Linked DNA regions of Homo sapiens: regions 1 and 2 are each linked to region 3. Evidence: promoter capture Hi-C in 16 types of primary human blood cells and fetal thymus (Javierre and others, 2016). All regions are on one chromosome and are shown on one strand. The core of a region is centred on a gene start or on the middle of the fragment in contact, and the rest is flanking DNA. Distances in the headings are between cores, read along the strand shown.

Evidence for each region. The method cuts DNA at HindIII sites, captures the fragments that hold promoters and counts their contacts. A CHiCAGO score of 5 or more calls a contact.
Region 1: a fragment that was not itself captured here is called in contact with the fragment with the promoter of UBE2O in region 3 in 1 of 17 cell types (M1 macrophages); the score reaches 5.2 in M1 macrophages.
Region 2: a contact is called between a fragment that was not itself captured here and the fragment with the promoter of UBE2O in region 3, in 2 of 17 cell types (M1 macrophages and M2 macrophages). The highest score is 6.0, in M1 macrophages.

What each region holds. Positions count from the first base shown.
Region 1 is chr17:76,156,958-76,161,931 of GRCh38, forward strand. It overlaps RNF157 (ring finger protein 157), which reads right to left. Exons shown (of 19, transcript NM_052916.3): 10 at 4,886-4,974; 11 at 4,578-4,690; 12 at 2,378-2,616; 13 at 1,436-1,544. Among named protein-coding and RNA genes, the nearest start is that of FOXJ1, 18 kb to the left of the region's middle. The HindIII fragment of the contact is 1,016 bases long and covers 2,805-3,820 here.
Region 2 is chr17:76,047,838-76,052,240 of GRCh38, forward strand. It overlaps SRP68 (signal recognition particle 68), which reads right to left. Exons shown (of 16, transcript NM_014230.4): 9 at 2,591-2,689; 10 at 69-133. Among named protein-coding and RNA genes, the nearest start is that of SRP68, 22 kb to the right of the region's middle. RefSeq lists a silencer at 323-392. The HindIII fragment of the contact is 2,312 bases long and covers 1,426-3,737 here.
Region 3 is chr17:76,451,580-76,456,049 of GRCh38, forward strand. It overlaps UBE2O (ubiquitin conjugating enzyme E2 O), which reads right to left and starts at 1,573. Exons shown (of 18, transcript NM_022066.4): 1 at 1,146-1,573. The coding sequence starts at 1,562. It also overlaps a transcript of AANAT not described here. RefSeq lists silencers at 925-1,124, 1,245-1,784, 1,579-1,747. The HindIII fragment of the contact is 7,923 bases long and covers 1-2,507 here.

The DNA of each region.
Region 1 (4,974 bases), core at 2,063-4,562, 290 kb before region 3:
TTTTTTTTCACTTTTTTTTTTTGAGATGGAGTCTCGCTCTGTTGCCCAGCCCAGGCTGGAGTGCAGTGGTGCGGTCTTGGCTCACTGCAACCCCTGCCTCCTGGGTTCAAGCGATTCTCCTGCCTCAGCCTCCCGAGTAGCTGGGACTACAGGTGCATGCCACCACACCTGGCTAATTTTTTGTATTTTTAGTAGAGACGGGGTTTCACCATGTTAGCCAGGATGGTCTCGATCTCCTGACCTCGTGATCCGCCCGCCTCGGCCTCCCAAAGTGCCGGGATTCCAGGCGTGAGCCTCCGCGCCCGGCCAGTCACACAGTCCTTCTTGCCTGGGCTACTGAAACCCTCTCCTGGCTGGGTCTGTCTCCCGTCTAGTCCAGGCTGCACACTGCGGTCGGGTGGGCCTTTGGGGTGTGAAGCACTCACTGTGCCCCTGGCTTGCTCCGAGCCCCGACTTCCTGCTCTGTGCCTTTGCATGCATCGTCTTCTCCACATGGATGTTTCTCTCACCTCTTTCTCCATGTCTAAAAAACTTCCAGGTTTAGCTAAAATGCTATTCCTCCATAACACATTTTCTGATTTCCTCCACTTACAATGATCTTTTCCATCTCTGACACAGCAATTTATCGTCTCTGTTTTGGGCATACTTCTTTTTTATAAAATTTACTTAGTCATTGAACAAATACTTACTGAGCAACAACAACGTGCCAGGCACATGCTATTCCCATGTATATGTCCTGTCCCAGCCAGACCTGAGCACCTAAGGGCAGGGACCACTTTATTTACCTTCCTGTGCCCTGCTGTATCTAGCTCAGTGCCCTACAGAGAGAAGCTGCATAAACCTTTGTTAAGTGAGGTCTCTGTGGGACGCACAGAGTAGAAAATTCCAGCCTTCTCTTCCATTCTTCCACATGGGCCTCCCGACACCCCCCACTTACCCCCAGGACTTTCTCCTTGCTGTTCCCAGACCTAGGGCCCTCTCTCCTCGTATATCTGCATAGCTAGCTCTACCACTTCCCTTGGTCTTGGCTCCTGGACCGCTTTTTAAGAATGGCAGCCCCCACTTCCAGCCGTGACACTCCCTTCCCACATGTCACACATGCTGATCCACAGCACCATCAGGCACACATGTATTTTTTTACCTATTGTCTTTTGTGCCCCCCACCCCAGATAGCAAGAATATAAATGCTACAAGGGCAGGGACTTTTGTAGTGTCCCAGCTACTATCCTCAGCATATAGCACAGTGCCTGGCAAATAATACAGGCTGCATACACTGTTGAATGCATGAATCCAGTGAAACCTTTGCCACTGCCTCAGAGGGTGCTGACAAGGTGTTTGATGAGTGAATGAGAGCAGAGGGACCTGATGAGGCATGCAGGTAGGAGGGAAGTCCCTGGAGTACAACACCCAAGAAGAGGAGAGGAATGTCAATTACCTCTCCGAGATGCTGAACCGACGGTCTCTGAGAGAGCTGTGTCTCCGACTCGCTGCAGGAATGCTCATCTTCCTCTTCATGCAGCACGGAAGAGTTTTGGGAAGTGGATCTGTAGGAGTCCAGTGGAAAAGCAGCTATATCCAACGTCCATTTAAAGAACAGAACTTACTGCAAGGGGAGCTGAGGGGAAAACCCAAATATTTTTTGCTTGTTTATTTTTTGAGACAGCATCTCATTATGTTTCCCAGGCTGGGCTGGGACTCCTGGGCTTCAGCGATCCTCTTGTTGACGCTTTAACAGAGGAGGAGTACAGCCTCCTGAGTAGCCGAGTAGGTCTGGGCTAACTTGCCTGGCTCGAAACCCAAATCTTAAGTAGGACTAGGGAAATAGAACCAGAGAGGGATGGAGACCTCTTTTGGGTGTCAGAAGCGCTAAGTTTTACTTTTAGCTCCTCTGATGACTTGCTATCTAAACTTGGGAAAAACCACTGCCATTTACAGGGTCTCAATATTTTCATCTGTAAAATACCCTCCCCTTTACTCTGCCACAGAAACCTTGTCATGATTTGTGCCTAGCTGGATTTAGATGTTTAAGAGATACGGATCACAAGGTTCCTTCAGTCTTCGGACTAAGCAATGCTCCCAGGGGCCTAGAAGGCCCTATCCACAGTGTTCAACATCCTCTTCCCTATATCCCATCCCCTATCCTTGAAAGAAAAAAAGAATACATAAGAGATTTGTCTCATCAGAGTTTTCTTAAGTACCTACATACCATCTTATTTTCATCTCTTAATGGATGGGATAACCTTCACGCAAGCAGCTCTGGGAACAGCCCAGAGGGTTACTCTGCCCTAAGTCCCCAGGATGTGGGCCAGCACCAAGGAGGGATGAAGCATTTCATCAAGGATTCCGGGGGCAACAGTGTGGAGCACTGGCTACTCACTTGGAGAGACTCTTTTTGAGTTTGAGTCCCTGACTGCTGCTGTCAGACAGGCGGTCAAGAGGCGAGATCGTCCTGACGGGGGGCAGGTGGCCATCACTGCCATATGAAGGGAGCATTCCTGAGAGGTGGCCATCTCCAAGCACGTGAAGTGGAGGAACTGCTGGGGACGGGGTGAGGGGCCCGTTGAGGGCCTCCAGAAGAGATACTACTTCATAGCCTGGTGGAATATTCTCTGAGGACTAGGGGAATCAGAGACAGGTTGAAAAATTAATTAGGTCCTTTTTGTTTTATGACGTGATCATGCTACTTCTCTACACTGAAAAAAATGTTTTATATCTGTTCTTGGGGGGGTCTGGTAAGAACAACTGTACTAGAGGCAGAGATAAAATATCAAAGAATCACACACTGTAGATCCTGCTTATTGGTAAGCTTTTTCTTAATAATCTCTATTTTTTTTCTGATTATAATGGAAATTTGGAAAATACATAAAAGTAAAAGTAAGGAAAAAAAATCACCAGTAATCAAATCACCCAAAGTTACTTTTGTTAGCATTCTGGTGTCTCTTCTTCCCATTTTTTTTCTGTGTACTATTTACACAGTTTTGATCAATCTGTAAATAACAATTTTATATTCTGCTTATTTTATTATACTTTCCTCTTTAAAAAAATAGAGATGGGATCTCACTATGTTGCCCAGGCTGGTCTTGAGCTCCTGGTCTCAATTGATCCTCCCACCATGGCCTCCCAAAGTGCTAGGATTACAGATGTAAGCCACCATGCCTGGCCAGAACATAAATATTTTCCTTTGTTTCTGAAGCCTCTTTATATATGTCCCCTTCTCATAGATCCCCTAAGTTTTCTAACTATTCTCCTAGTGCTGGGAATCTAGTTGTGTCTAACACATCCTATTGTAAACAAGTTTTGATGAACATCCTTGAATGCCTTTTTTTCAAATTATGTTCTTGTTATTAAATTATTAGCTCTTAGATGATGAGGTATAAATGTTTTTAAGGCCTTGATATATACTGCTGTTTTCTGCTGTTTTTTTTTTCAGTGCCTTTTCTAGTTACACTCCTATAAGTAATACAGAAGACCTATTCTGACTGCTTCCCCGAAAGCAGGGAGAATCGCTAAAAAGAAAAGTTTTTAAAATTTGAAAGTTGGAAAATGGTATTCTCATATTTGCATATCATTGATTTTTAATGTGGTTGAACTTTTTAAAAAATTCTATGTTGAGTGTGTTTTGTTTATGCCCTTTGCCCTTTTATCTACTGTTTTATTCAATATGAACTATGGCAAAGACATTAGCTTTTCCTCTGATACACACATTGTAAATAGTTTTTAAAAAAACACTATTTGTTGTCTAACTTTTAATTTTGGTTACCTTTTAGACCTCTGAAGTGCTAAACTTTTTAGGTGGTAAAATGTATGGTTCTTGCTTTCAAGCTTAGAGAATCCTTTCCAATCCAAAGTCAACTAAATAATCATCTATAATTTATTCTAGATTTTGAATGTTTTGCTTGGTTTGCTGTAATGTTTGTTTGGTTTGATGCTCTTAATATAGTTAACTAGTTACTCCAGCTGGAATTTATTTGGTAAGGAGTAAAGTGCTAAACTAATTTTTCCTCCTGAAATAGCTAACTAATTATCCCAATACCATTCACTAAATAATAATCTCTCCCAGCAGTGCGTTAGTCTAAAGAAAGACAGTATCTGCTGCTCTCTAACTGCAAAGCTTTGAGGTTTCACCCTAATATCAGCACTTACACTAGGAAACTGAAGTCAGTTACTTTATCTCAGGCACTGAGGCCACAAAACAGGATAAAGAAAAACAGTTACTTTCTTCGAGGATTCAAATAAAGATAATAAATTGTATTTAAATCCAAAATAATCGTCCCATTGTTTCTGCCTGGGGGAGTTCAAGTTGAACCTCACTGGAGTGAAACTGCAAGCAGATGGCTCTAGGAATGGTAAACATTAACTGGACACCAAGTTCCCAAGGAGGAAAAGGGAGGTTTTCAGTATTCAATTTTCCACAGTAATAAGTTGGTTTTAACGCATGCTCTCAGCCGGCTTGCTAAATACTGCAGCATGCCCTGGTCTAATTCCTTGCTGCAATGCCACGTAGAGAAGCATGAAAAGTTTAAAAAAGCCAATGAGGCATTTGCTTCAGAGGGGCCGTGGTTCCGAGCCCAACTTACTGGATGCTCTTCAGAGTCAGATGTCTGGGATGAGATGATGGGGTTAAAGCTGGTTGGGGACAAGGGGCCCAATTTTTTCCTCATGGCTCGGATCTGAAGCAGTGCCCGGAAGGCTGTGAAGGAGAAAACAGGCAATCAGGACATCCTGATACAGGATTAAGAATGAACAAGAGCCCAGACAGAAACCATGATCCCTCCCAGCGCGCATCCGTTTGTCAGATCCAGCAGCAGCACATGCTTCAGTGTTTTGTAAATGTCCTCTTGTCCCCTCTCCCACCCACCAGTCCCCCTGCCGCTCTGGGGCTTACGCAGTCGGCAGATGGGGCAGTTGTTGGCCTGGTAGCGCAGCGTGTCTGCACAGGTGTTACAGAGGCAGAGGTGGCGACAGGGCAGAATC
Region 2 (4,403 bases), core at 1,332-3,831, 400 kb before region 3:
TTACATATACTCTTTTGTTCAAATATTTTAATAATATTAAAAAGTAAAAAAATTAAAATAACCCTTACCTATGCAAGTATTGAAGATTAGACACCTTCCCTGGCTCTCCTTCAAGGATATAATCTCTCTGTTTCTGCAGAAAGTGAAAAAGGTAAAAAGTAAAGCAACTGATGCTCTCCATCGCTCTGACCACCTCATGGAATGGTGGGGTCTCCAAAGTGCCCTGAACATAGACACAAACTCTAGTAAGACAGGAGTCCTCAAATATCAAAGATCTATACTTGACATAATCTAGAATGACAGTGGCACTCAAGTTGCCACTGGCATCTAAAAATTGACCTCAAATAAGAGAACTGAGAGTAACGGCCAGATGAGACTTCCTGTCCACTCCTCCCCGTGCCTAACCCCAAAGCATTAAAATCAGACATTCCACAGTCCACGGCTCTGTGTGAAGGTCTGTGCCACAGATCCCAGTTCCACCCCTTGTGCTGTCAGAGTGTGCCTTTTGTGGCTGGCCGAATAACATACGCCAGAGCTGTCTATATGCTAGCCTCCGTGCAATCTGGGAAGATGTTACCATATATGGTAAAAGAGACTCTACAGATGTGATTAAATTAGGGATCTCTGAATTATCTGGGTGGGTCCAATGTCATCCCAGGGTCCTGAGAAGAGGGAGGCAGATGGGTCAGAGATGCAGAAGATGAAGGAACGGAAGCAGAGGGGAGAGGAGCTGATCGCTTTGAAGCACAAACGGAGAGCCACAAGCCAAGGACTACAGGCAGCCGCTAGAAGCCAGGAGATGCATTCTTGGGAATACTGGAAAAGGATTCCCCTAGGGTTTCTAAAGGAACACAGCCCTGTGAACCCACTAGATTTCTGACCTCGAGAAGCGTAAGATAATACATTTGGATCATCTTAAACCATCAAGTTTGTGGTTAATATGATCGCAGCAACAGGAAATGAATGCGCCTTTGCGGCATCACATTCCTTACATTCTGTGAGGTGTCTCCCAACTGCTATGCATTCAAGGTGAATGACAGTGACAGGGGCTGGGACTCTGTAGGCACCTCTGTTAAGTCGATGAAGGGAAGCACAATACATAAAGGCAGCCTAACGGGGCAAGGAAGCAGGTGACTCCTTAGAGAAAGCAGTGATTCAAAACAAAGTTTATACTCAAGGCTTTGTGGCAGATGCTGAAAAAAAAATAGTTGCTAGGCAACGAAGTTATTGTTGTTTAATGGGTTCAGCGTTTCAGTTTTACAAAATGCAGAGAGTTCTGGAGATGGACTGTTGGTGATGGTTGTACGTTATGAATGCATTTAATTACCACTGAACCATACACTTAAAAATGGTTAAGGTTTTATGTTTAACGTTTTTTACCACAATAAAGTTTTTATGAAGAGGTAATACTTAATTAACTATCAAAGCTTATAGCTGCAAGTATCAGATATTTAGAAACTGCAGAGATCTCTGTGGGCTAGGATGGTGCAGGCATATGCTTTTCAGAAATGGTAAGCTATGAGCTGGACCTTGAAAAACAGATGGGGTTTGGACAGGTGAAGAGGGGCAGGAAAGATTACCCAAGTGTGCGGAGGGAGGGGAATGAGAACAGTGTAACACACGGGGTGGGAAAGGCATTACTGAGATGCCAGTAAGTGGAACAGCTTGAGGCAGAGGACTCAGAAGGATGCAGTGAAGTACAAGGCTGGGAACAGACTAAGGAAGGCTTGTACACCAGCTCAAGTCTGAACTGAGAGGCCAGTGGTCTCTAAGTAGGGCGCATAAAACCCAGGGAGTCTGGGTATGAAACGAAAATTAGAATTTCTATTTCTATTTATCTCATTCAAAAAAGCCCTTATTTTAATGCAGTTTATATATGACAAATTAGTCAAATAATAAGCTATATAATTCATAAATAAATGCATCAGTGGTGCAGGCTCAATGCTGCCTATGGGGTTTATCAGCATAAAAGTTTGGAGGCCATTGCTCAATCCCTAGAGGAAATCACTGGGCTTTTTAAAATTAGACAGGGAAACTAGATTTAGAAAGATTCCATTTGTACTTTGCGAAAGAAAGGCCTGGAGAAGGGAACCGAGACCAAGCCAGAAGAAGCAATTAGGAGACCTTTGCGGTTGCCTAGGCACACGAGAAAAGGCTAATAGAAACAGGTGAAGCAACAATAGGCAAGAGGCCCTGCAAAGGGAGAAGAAGGTGGGTTTGGTGACAGGGACAAAAGAGACAAATAGATCTGAGGTTTTCAGCCTAGATGCCTGAATCAACCACAGGGATAGTGTTTTCAGAAAAGGGAGGCACTGGAGAAGTCCACCTGGAGACAGAATTGGAGGCCACAGGCTTCACAGGCCATATAGGAAACCATTAGGAGGAACAGGGGAGGGAGAAATTAATTTCTCAATGTGATGGAGCCCAGAGGCCCTTGTTTGCTCCCTTACGACCTCACCTCAAAAAAACAAAAACGAAACAGTGGCCAAGCGAGCAGTGCACTCAGAGCACTGGGGTCCACCTGAGAAGGGGACACAGGCTGACCTGGACCCGCCCAGAGCAAGAACCAGGGCTCGGCTGAGGGTCCTACCTGATCTGGCTTGAGCTCCTCCCGAACCACCTGGATGGCGTCCCGACACTCGCTGAGCATTGATTCAAACAGGCGCTCCTTAGTTTCTTCGCTTTCAGCCTAAACAAGGGCAGATCAAAGTAAGAGACTTTCCTTTGAGCAAACCATAGTCACCTAATGGGAGAGGAGCAAAATCGCACATGGAGTCCCCCAACCACACACTCACTCACGCACGCCACACCAGATATCATTTTAATTGTTACTGTTCTCTACCATATAATGGTTTCTCATAGCCTTAGTCATTCATTATTCATATGGAAAGGGGAGTTCTATTTTTAAAAGCAAACATGCTGAAAAAGCTGTCTGCATAACTGATCTGAGACTTAGCAAAGGCTTTACGTCTCTTCCCAGCACAGCTTCCTGCTACTTCCCTGCAGCGCTTCACCCTCTGCTCAGGACCTGGCACCCCTTGAGGGGCCTTACAGACTGGACTTGGGACACTCTACACTGAAGCACAGCACACCAGAACTTTCCTTATCTTTTCCTTCCAGAACAAACTTGTCAAGCTCTACTGTATGCCAACACAATTACCTTTTACAAATGTGACCCAACTCAAAGATTGTTTCTTTTAGGTACAAGGAAATAATAAAAAAGACTAATCAATACCCACCAAAAAGACAGTTCTCCTAAATATCACACTAAGTTCTTTTCGCCACAGACGTGCTGCACTCAGATATTCCACATGACTACTCTGAGAACAATTTTTAGGACATACAAGGTTGACACGCATGAGACGACAGTCTTTGCACAAGTACTGGGTGTCACCTGTCTGCTACACAGCTAGGGTAAGTGAGAAAGTGATTCACTAACTGAATACCTGCCAAGCCACATTATCGTCCCAAAGAATCTGACCGAGCAGATAGAAATGGACAAAAGGCAGAAAGGGGATGAACCTGTGTGACTGGCAGACCCACTGTGAAATTAAAACATCAACATTCCATTATGGTATTTGACTTCCCATAGAAATTAACACTCAATCTGAAAAAATGTGTTAATATTCAACTGACCTCTAAGAAAGCTCAAACGAAAACCCAGTGCTGCCCACCCCTTTAAGAGATGGTTGGGGGAACAGGGGCTTAAAGAAAAACCCTTTTTCTTCTCTTAAGAAAGCTTTTCTTAAAAGTTCTCTTAAGAATCTATTTCTTCTCTTTTCTTAGTCTCCAGTGTGAAAAAAAAAATCTTCCTTGTAACTTACCCAATACAAATCAAACATACTTTTCCACTTATAAGTTACTTGACTTTCCTGTTGTTCACTAACTTGGGAACGAACTGGGGCTCATTCATGCTATAAATCTAGTAAAGCAAACACGGCCACCATTCACTCCTGGAACCACCAGAGCAGCACCATCCAATAGAACTCTCTGCCACGGGCAATGTCCTCTACGTGCACCGTCCAATGAACACCTGAGCACTCGGAAGTTTTATTAATTTATCTATCTTTTTATTATTTTATGTTTTTGAGACAGAGTCTTGCTCTGCTACCCAGGCTGGAGTATAGTGCCGTGATCTCGTCTCACTGTAACCACCGCCTCCTGGGTTCATGAGATTCTCCTGCCTCAGCCTCCGGAGTAGCTGGGACTACAGGTGCCCGCCACCACGCCTGGCTATTTCACCATGTTGGCCAGGCTGGTCTCGAACTCCTGACCTCAGGTGATCCACCTGTCTTGGCCTCCCAAAGTGCTGGGGTTACAGGCAGGAGCCACAGAGCCTGGCTGGAAGTTTTATTAATTTAAATTTCAATAACCACATGTGTTGAGCGGCTACTGCACTGGAC
Region 3 (4,470 bases), core at 323-2,822:
ACATGAAACCCCGTTCCTCTGTAGTCTTTGTCTCCCACTGTGTGAGAAACCCAGATCAACTTCCAAAGTGCCCTCCCCTGAAATCAGACCTCTCAACCTCCCAAGGACCTAAAACAGCGTAGGCCTGATTCCTGCTTAGAAATGTTTTCTTGAAGGGGAGGGGAAGTAGGAGAGAAAGAAGGGGTGTGAGATACAGGGGGGTGTGTGTGTGTGTGTGTGTGTGTCAATTACTGATAGGAATTCACATTCTGGAAAACAAGCCACCAAACCAACCCGGGTTCAAGGTTTCGGGTTTATGATGACAAGCCTCTTTGTTTTGTAAAACTGCTATACTCACTAGCATCACCCCAAAAACCATACGGGAGTCAGATGTCTGCTTAACAGCTTCAGGTCAAGAAAAAACCTTCGGGTTTCCAAATTGGTGACTCCCCTCTACCCAGGGTTCTGGATTATTTTTTTCAAGGAGTCCATATGCACTTAGGAGTCATCAATCCCGGTCGCAGCTGTCAGAATCCTCCCCCCCAAGTACTATTCATACCGGGGCTCTGATTGCTAATGATTTTACTCACAAAGTTCCCTGCAGCAATTAAAAGGAGGCAGCAGGGTAAAACAAAAAGAGGCTGGGTGGCTTCACCATAATGCAGCCTGTAAGCTAGTGAACTTCTTGGGTTCGGCTGGGATTTTCACCTCTATCTTTGTTTTGGAATGCCCACAACCCCTCCCTGCACGGACCCGGCACGGCCTTCATTTCTGGATGCACAATGCAGTACCGAGCTCCTTGGGGGTCAGCAAAACGCCGCACTGGTGTAACGCCGAACGCGCCCCAGAACCTGAGTCCCCACGGGAGTCGGTCCACGTCTCTAAATCTCGAGGCCGACACCACAGCATAACATGTCTTAGAAGTCCCCTCAAGTCGGGAAGCCCAGGGCCCGCCCGGTCCCGGGCCAGCAGTGCCTGGCTGGCGTGTGCGCCCAGAGCTGCTGCAATGACTTTGCATGGAGTGTACCCTCCACTGGGGCTGTCCTCCCGCGTCGGCCACTGCAGTGGCACCGCTCCGGGCAGGGCCCTGCACGCCGTCCTTCCCTGGCCTCGGCCCGGCCGCCGACCCCCTGCCGCCCGCGCCGCCCAGCCCCCGCCCGCCGCACCTTGGTCTCCTTCACATGCTGCTTGACGCCCTCCGGGTACCACTGGACGCGCACGTAGCCGCGGCGCAGGGGGCTGGCCCGGCCCTCCTCGTGGCCCGCGCCCCCGGCCTCGGAGCACCCCGAGCTCCCGCGGCCCTCCTCCTCGCCCTCCGAGTCCGAGTCCTCGCCGTGGATGAGGCGCACCAGCCCGAAGTGCACGGAGCCACGGTAACGGCCCGACACCAGGTCGTGAGAAAACAGCAGGCGCTGCGAGCCGGCTTCTGGGCCGGAGTCCGAGGACGGCCCGGAGGCCGAGTCCGAGGCGGGCGCCGGCGCCGGGACGGGGGCTGCGGCTGGGGCCGGGACTGCCTCCGGGGCTGGAGCCGGGGCCTGGGCTGGAGCGGGAGCTGCGGGCGTGGGGGCTGCGGGATCCGCCATAACTGCTCTGCGCGAGTCTCGGGCGGCGGCGGCGACAGCGGCGGCGAACGAGGCGCGGGGAGGCGGGACCAGCGGGCGCCGGGGGCGGGGCCATAGCGCGCTGACGTGTCCCTGCGTGGCGCCGTCGTCAGGGAGCCGGGATGCAGTTGCTAGGAGCCACCGCCTCGTCGCTAGGGGACGCTGAAGATGCCGCGGGGGGCGGGGGCAGGATGGAATCCACTAAGAAGGGGCGAGACCAGTGAGGATTCAACTAAAGGGAGCGAGAAGGGGCGGGGACCCGGGAGGAGGAAGTGGAGTGGCCACCGAGGAAGAGGGGAGTGGTCGGGGTGGGGCACAGGATGGTGGAGAGACTGTCAACAACTTTTAATGAGCTCCCTTGGCGTCCTAGCCTAGCCCCCAGGCACTGGGAGCATTGCAGAAAGAGAAAGATACTGTCCCTGTCCTCTAGGTGTTTCCAGTCTAGTTGGGGAGACAAAACAAATACACATTAAATAGATAACAAACAACTCCAACTTGTAAGGCTATAATAGATACGTGTAGAGCATATGTATAATGCACTGTATTCAGGAATTCCAAGCAGTTCGAACGTCATGACCCCTCAGAAGTTGACCCAGAAGCTGGTGAAGGAGGCCCAGAGAAAGGTAACAAAAGGATCAGTGGTCCCAGTGGTTTGGCTACAAATCCATGCAGATAAATTCAAAGCTCCCTGAAGCCAAGAATGAATGGCAAGAGGTAGTATAGTAAGGTAGCTAAGAGTGGGGACCACGGATTCCAATTTTTGGCACTGCCACTTACTAATCTATAAAAATAGGCACACTGATTAACTTATTTTCATCTTAATTTGCTCATCTGTGAAATAGGGATGATAATAGCAATACTCATCTCATTGGGCAATTGGAGGATTAAGTGAAGTAGAACAGTGCCTGGCATTTAGCTCCTTCGATAAGCTTAACCATTGTTGTACTATTTCCAAACTCCCTGCCTAGACTAAATTCCAGACTGGCAGAACTGTTATGGTCTGCTCCATATTGTCATTTTAAAATATAAAAAGTAGGCCGGGCGCGGCAGCTCACACCTGTCATCCCAGTACTTTGGGAGGCTGAGGTGGGCGGATCACGAGGTCAAGAGATTGAGACCATCCTGGCCAACATGGCGAAACCCCATCTCTACTAAAAATACGGAAAAAAAAAAAAAATAGCTGGGCGTGGTGGCACATGGCTGTAGTCCCAGCTACTCAGGAGGCTGAGGCAGGCAAATCGCTTGAACCTGGGAGGCTGAGGTTGCAGTGAGCCCAGATCGCGCCACTGCACTCCACCCTGGGCAACAGAGCAAGACTCTGTCTCAAAAAAATAAATAAATAAAAATAAATAAAATATAAAAAGTAACTCTAGGGCCAGGCGTGGTGGCTCATGCCTGTAATCCCAGCACTTTGGGAGGCAGAAGCAGATGGATCACCTGATCACCTGAGGTCAGGAGTTCAAGACCGCCCTGGCCAACATGGCGAAATCCCTTCTCTACTAAAAGTACAAAAATTAGCTGGGCGTGGTGGTGTGCACCTGTAGTCCCAGCTACTTGGGAGGCTGAGGCAGGAGAATTGCTTGAATCTGGGAGGCAGAAGTTGCAGTGAGCCGAGATCATGCCACTACACTCCAGCCTTGGCAACAGAGCAGGACTCTGTCTCAAAAAACAAAAAACAAAAAAAAGGCTGGATGTGGTGGCTCTTGCCTGTAATCCCAGCACTTTGGGAGACCGAGGCGGGTGGGAGACCCGAGGTCAGGAGTTCAAGACCAGCCTGGCCAAGATGGTGAAACCCTGTCTCTACTAAAAATACAAAAATTAGCCGGGCGCGGTGGCAGCCGCCTGTAATCCCAGCTACTCGGAAGGCTGAGGCAGGAGAATCACTTGAACCTGGGGAGTGGAGGTTGTAGTGAGCCTAGATCGCGCCGCTGCACTCCAGCCTGGGCGACAGAGTGAGATTCCGTCTCAAAAAAAAGTAACTCTAGGCCGGGCACAGTGGCTCACGCCTGAAATCCCAACACTTTGACTGCGCCTGAAATCCCAACACTTTGGGATGCCAAGGTGGGTGGATCAGTTGAGGTCAGGAGTTCAAAACTAGCCTGGCCAACATGGCAAAACCCCATGTCTACTAAAAATCCAAAATTAGCTGGGCAAGGTGGCAGGCGCCTGTAATTCCAGCTACTTGGGAGGCTGAGACACGAGAACCACTTGAACCTGGGGGTTGGAGGTTGCAGTGAGCCTAGATCACACCACTGCACTCCAGCTTGGGTGACAGAGTGAGACTCTATCTCAAAAGAAAAAAACTAACTCTAATTTAATGTGTCACCTAAGTTTCAAAGGGTTTAGATACATTCTCAGAGGACAGATTTAAATGGATTGTTAAGGAAAACAAGATCTGGCCCTAACCTTTCTCAGTCAACATCATTTTTTCCACATTTTTCTACACGATCATCAACGAAAGACTAGTAAGTTGGATATTACAGTATTTAGGTTCTTCAAAGAAGGCAGAATCCCAGCTCTTTGTGTTGTTTACAGGATCCTGAAGATACAGAACTATGTTCATAGAAAAGTTGGTTGGGTGTGGTGGCTCACATCTGTAATCCCAGCACTTTGGGAGGCCAAGGCAGATGGATCATTTGAAGTCAGGAGTTCAAGAGCACCCTGGCCAACATGGTGAAACCCCGTCTCTGCTAAAAACACAAAATTAGCCAGGTGTAGTGGCGCATGCTTGTAGTCCCAGCTACTCGGGAGGCTGATGCAGGAGAATCGCTTGAACCCGGGAGCAGGAGGTTACAGTGAGCCAAGAACACATCACTGCACTCCAGCCTGGGCGACAGAGCGAGACTGCGTCTCAAAAAAAGAGAGAGAAAAGTTAAAAGAACATGCACAA